2 separate regions of the Homo sapiens genome follow, and region 1 is linked to region 2. Evidence: promoter capture Hi-C in 16 types of primary human blood cells and fetal thymus (Javierre and others, 2016). All regions are on one chromosome and are shown on one strand. The core of a region is centred on a gene start or on the middle of the fragment in contact, and the rest is flanking DNA. Distances in the headings are between cores, read along the strand shown. Region 1 holds the start of HPF1 (histone PARylation factor 1). Region 2 holds the start of AADAT (aminoadipate aminotransferase).

Region 1 (2,700 bases), core at 158-2,657, 330 kb before region 2:
TGACTCTACTGATTTCCAACCTTAGGCAAGTTACTTAACCTCTCTGTGCTTTGTTTTCTCATCTGCAAAAAGGGCATACAGTGCCTATATCGGGGTTGTTACAAGGAATGTTATTATATGTAAAAATACACAGAACGGTCCTAGCACATAATATACAAATGCTGGCCATTACGGTTATAGTCTCTACAGACTCATCTTCATTTCTGTTATTGTATTTCTAGTTAAGCACATCACTCCACCAAAGCAGTTCTTCACTGCACCTTCAAAAAGAGAATTTTTTCAGCTGTGCCTTTACTCACACACTAGTTCAGCATCTCCATAGCCCTAACAACTAGGATTTAGAACAGCTGTCCCCTTCAGAGGCTACACTTCTTCTTTACCCTGGTCTTCCTAGAATGCATGACCCAATATGAAGGATGCCTATACCGATGGCCCTTTAACAGTTAGTTAAGCCCTCTAAGAATGTCTCACCCTGTCCGATTTATGACACTACCAGAGTAACTTTTCTAAAACTTTAGTTATCACAATGGCACTTCTTTCCTGATTCCCCTTATTGCTACTGTAGTGGTTACAGAACTTCCGAAATCGTAGTAAAGTATGAGAATGCACACACTCTCTCCTCCTCCCCTCTCAGTAGTGCTTTTATGATCAGGTCCCTCTTATTTTCCCATTTCCCTGGCTCCAGCCAAGCCGAACGCTCCGCTACGCCCAAACATCTCCTACAGTTTTATGTCTCAGAATCTTACTTCTCTGCCTTCAAAACCAATTTTCAAAGAGTTGTCTTAAAAGTCTTCTTTAACACCCCCTGGGACTTGTTAAATCCTCCTTCAGTGTTTCCATAGCACTTTCTACACACCAGCGTTATAATCCCAAACAAAAAAGTCACAGTAGAATGCATATTTGCTTGTGCCCCTCCTCCCCAGGCCGAGGGCTCAACAAGCAGCAGGAGCAAGCAGGTTGACCCCCAAATCCGCAGCGCCCCACAGAATGTCAGGTATGTAATCGGTTCCCAATCAATCTGGCTGGGCGAATGAACCATTGGTTGGCTTAATCCGTTTCCCCAGGAAATGCTCCAAGAGGAGCTGGGCAGAAGATGCAGAGGAGCTACTTTCCTGGTCCAACCCCCTGCAGAGCGCGAAACAGCGGCCCTGGGCAGGATCCCCGCAGCAAACCGCAGCCCCTGGACACACAGCAAGCTTAATAGTCACTGGATGAATGAAAAGCGCTGCCTCCTGGTGCCCTGGCTGTCACCCAAAGCGCCCCGCGTAGCCCGCACAGCCTTTCCGGCAGTACCTGCGGCCCCTCTCCGCCGGGCCTGCGCTTCCCGCCACCGCCGACCATTCTGCAGCTGCAGCGCCAGCAGAATTCCCCGATCCGCGGCCGCTTCCGAGCGCCGCCAACCGCTTCCGGGTTCAAAAGCCTCCAAGCCGAATTTCAGCGCCGCCCGGGCTCGCCAATTTAGGGGAAAGGCTCCGCCCATTCCCCGCCCCCTGAGACCTGGCACCGGACGCGTTGAGGCCCCGCCCACTCCCGTGCTGGGCGCGTGCAAGGAGCGTCTTCTGTCAGCGTAGTCTGCATCTAGGCTTTCTGGAGCATCTTCCAGGGTCGCTCCAGAGACCCCCCAGACTACTGAATCTGAATCCTTAGAGTGGTCCAACCTTCCTCTTCAGGTGTCTACTAGAGGCAAGGTTGGATGTATGCGGCTGTTCTCAATACAGCCCCTTCCTTGTTTTTTCTTCATTTATATTTACTTAAAATATTAATCCTTTTCTCCTTCTCCTCCATCCCTCTCCCTACCCTACTGTACGGTTATTGGCTTACACTAATTCATTCCCGATTGTCTCCAAGAAGGAAATAAATGTCTGTCGGTCTCTGTCTCTGTACCGTCGTCTTCTTGGTACAATTTGGACTGTTTTTCCTCTACACCGCTGATATGCAAAGTGTAGTCCCTGAACCAGCGGCCTCAGCATCCTGAGGGAATTTGTTAAAACGCCAAATCTCAGGCCTTACCCAGACTTACTGAATCAATATCTGCATCGCAACAAGATCCCCTGGTAATTCCTATGCACATAAAATTTGGAAGGCACAACTCTCAACTGATGTCCTTGGACCTCCTTCACATCCATCCTGGGAAGGTCTTATTCCTCATTCCTGAGATGAGTTCTCTATTTCCTCAATCTGGGTGTTCCTTTTTCTTGATTATATACCCTCATGTTGTGGAACATATCCGCCAATAGTTCCTTGAGAGAGGTTGCTGCCAGGTCTTTTTTCCCACAGAGTGTGCATGTCTGGAAATGTTTTTATTCTGGCTGAGCACAGTTCTAGGTTGAAAATAACTTTCACTCGGAATATTGGAGGGCTTGCTCCGCAATATTTTAGCTTCCAGAATTGTTAAGAAACTATGTCGTTATATTTCCTTCTCCTTCACAGGTCACTAAATTTCTTGATATGTAACCTGCTTTCCTTTCTGTTTTGTTTTGTCTCAAGAAGCTTTAGGATCTTTTCTCTGTTTCCAGTGTTTTTTGTTTTGTTTTGTTTTGTTTTGTTTTTTTTGAGACGGAGTCTCGCTCTGTTGCCCAGGCTGGAGTGCAGTGGTGCCACCTCAGCTCACTGCAAGCTCCACCTCCCGGGTTCACACCGTTCTCCTACCTCAGCCTCCGGAGTAGCTGGGACTACAGGCGCCCGCCACCACGCCCAGCT
Region 2 (2,700 bases), core at 129-2,628:
GGAAGAGAAGAAACAATTTCATTGAAGATTGTTATAAGCGGATAGTTAAGCATGCATTATAGTCAATAAAACTATAAAGTTTAACGATTTCTAGTGATAGAGTGTGCTATGGTCTAAATGTTGGTGCTCCCCCAGATTCATACTTGGAAGTTAATACTAATGTGATAGTTTTAACAGGTGGGGTCTCTAGAGGTGATTAGGTCAGGAGGGATCCACCCTCCTGAATGGGATTGGTGCACTTATAAAAGAGGGCTGAGGGAATGCCCTTGGCCCTTCTGCCACGTGAGGACATAGGTTCTCCCTTCTACCACGTGAGGATGCAGCAAGATGGCTCTGTCTATAAGGAAGGGCTCTCACCATGGTGACACAGAAGCTGCTGGCACTTTGATCTTAGACTTCCTAGCTTCCAGAACTGTGAGAAATAATTCTATTGTTCATAAATTACCCAGTTTGTGGTATTTTGTTATAGCAGCCTGAATGGACTAAGACAAAAGCTAGTCTAAAATAAACATACAGAATAACTTTTTCTAGGCACCTCACTTGTGGAGGGACTAAAGAATGAAGGTGACCAAAGAGAAGGCAGAGGGATCAGAAAGACAGCAAAGGGCCACAATAGCAGAAGCCCTCCTCCACTTAGCCCCGACCTGTCTGTGAGCTTCATGGCCCACCCCTCTCCCATTTACCTGGCCCTCTCCACTGTACACCCATCTGCACGCTGTGCATGCCCCTTCTCAGCTTCCCAGGAAGAGCCTTTCTTGATAGCACGCCCCCTCCCTTCCAAGGCCGTGCCCCACAGCAGTCTGCGCCTCTCTCTACTGTTGCTCCTACTCTGCTCCAGCAGAAATACCCGCCTTCCGTTTCAGCCCGAGTTCTTTGAGAACAAAGGCTGTGTCTATTTCATTTCTGCACGCAGAGCCTGGCTCACCGCGAGCGTGCACAGGGGTACGCATGGATGCAACCAAGCGGTGGCTTGCTAGGGAACCCTCCTTAGAGGCTGTGCGAGGAATGCCCCACCCCAAAGGAGAGATGGTCACCCCGTTTCTCACTCATGGTCCGGATGGGAGAAGGGTTTCTGGCTGCGCTCGCTGCCGTGATGAACCGTGCGTAATTCATGTCTTCTGACAGCCAAGCATCAAGCTTCTTCTTCAGTGGTTGAGGACTAGAAAAACCAAAGAGCCTCGTCAAGTCCTGCCTGCTAACTCCTCACTCTGGCAACGCCACCGCGAGATGTGTCCCCCCGCTGCGTCTGGCTTCCCGCGCGCGGTGCCCGGAGAACGCCGCCGAAACTCCCCGGCTGGACGCTGCGTTCGGTCTCCCGGTCCTAAACGGGTCTGGGGCTGTGTGGCGAGCCCGGCAAAGTCCACGCCGCACGCGCTCCTGCGGCCGCCAGGGCCCAGGCCGGTTTTGCCCCGCCGCGGGCCTCGCCGCGCCCCCTCCCGCCCCGCGCCGTGGCCTATGGCCGCCCGCGGCGCGCGCCTCCCCGTCCCGGATCATCGCCCTCAGAGCGCAGGGCGCGGGGTAGCCCAGGCGCGAGGCGCTTGCAGCCCCAGGCCAATGACTCTTGACCTCGCCGCTGGGAATCACCGCAACCCGGCGTCCGCGTTGGCCGGCCTAGGCGCCGGCCCAGAGGCTAGCCCAGGGGCTGACCGAGGGGACCGGAAGTGCCCGTGATCCTAATCCTCGGGAACCATCTGGCGGCGACTTGGGTCCACTGCAGGGGGCTCCCGAGCTGCGCCCAGCCGGGAGCGGCCCCACCCTCGTTCCCGCGCGCTCCGCTGGCCTCCTCTCAGTCACTGGGACTGTGCATTTTGCCCGCTCAGACCATGGCTATGCTAAATACCCATCTTTCGTTAGTGAAACTCTGGGCACTCTCCTGGGAAGCATCCCGGCGACCAAGACGAATTTCAACATCACTTTCTCGAAGATCTCAGCATTTTGGAGTGACGATGGAGTTCTGACAAAAATTTTTGAAAAATCACTCTGAGTCTCTTCAATTTTAGTGTCTACCCTCACATTGAATTTCTGACCTTTCGTTAAATAAGAATTATGTTGGAAGTGAATATCCGGATCTTTTTGGGTCTAGCACCTTGCCTTTTTTTTTCTTACAAAATAACCCTTCTTACTCCCCACCTCCCTCAACTTTTCTGCAATTTCTCCTTCCTGAATCACCAAAATGGAATGTACAAGGTTTAATGTGAGCACTTAATGAGGGAAGGGTTTCAGACAACCTCTCTTTGACTTTAAAAAATTCTTTAATGGTTATTAAAATGAATGAACAGATTCATTCATTCAGCACAAATTTACTGAGTACTTCCTAGATGATTATTGACTCACTGCCAAATGGCTCTCTTTTAAGTTTACCTAATAGGTTGGTCAAGGAGCCACTGCTTTTATCTAGGTCCTGGCAGCAAAAGGCTGAGATAACCCAGTAAAATCTTTGTGCTAGCAGCTAAATAACAAAAAGGAAGTATTGAGAGGTGACAGCCTGCTGGCAGCCCTCGCAGCCCTCGCTCACTCTTGGCGCCTCCTCGGCCTCAGCGCTCACTCTGACCGCGCTTGAGGGGCCCTTCAGCCCGCCGCTGCACTGTGGGAGCCCCTTCCTGGGATAGCGGAGGCCGGAGCCGGCTCCCTCAGCCTGCGGGGAGGTGTGTAGGGAGAGGCACGGGCGGGAACCAGGGCTGTGCGGGCGCTTGCGAGCCA

What was found. Contacts are between HindIII fragments. The CHiCAGO score rates a contact against its expected background, and 5 or more counts as called.
Region 1: the fragment with the promoter of HPF1 here is called in contact with the fragment with the promoter of AADAT in region 2 in 13 of 17 cell types (erythroblasts, fetal thymus, megakaryocytes and 10 more); the score reaches 37.9 in erythroblasts.

Annotation. Positions count from the first base shown.
Region 1 is chr4:169,756,537-169,759,236 of GRCh38, forward strand. HPF1 (histone PARylation factor 1) reads right to left here and starts at 1,408. Exons shown (of 8, transcript NM_017867.3): 1 at 1,294-1,408. The coding sequence starts at 1,341. It overlaps LOC107986240 (a long non-coding RNA gene), which reads left to right and starts at 1,527. Exons shown (of 3, transcript XR_001741529.2): 1 at 1,527-1,688. RefSeq lists an enhancer at 1,256-1,325. The HindIII fragment of the contact is 1,294 bases long and covers 1,195-2,488 here.
Region 2 is chr4:170,088,578-170,091,277 of GRCh38, forward strand. AADAT (aminoadipate aminotransferase) reads right to left here and starts at 1,379. Exons shown (of 13, transcript NM_016228.4): 1 at 1,047-1,379. The coding sequence starts at 1,113. RefSeq lists a silencer at 601-895. The HindIII fragment of the contact is 4,709 bases long and covers 1,136-2,700 here.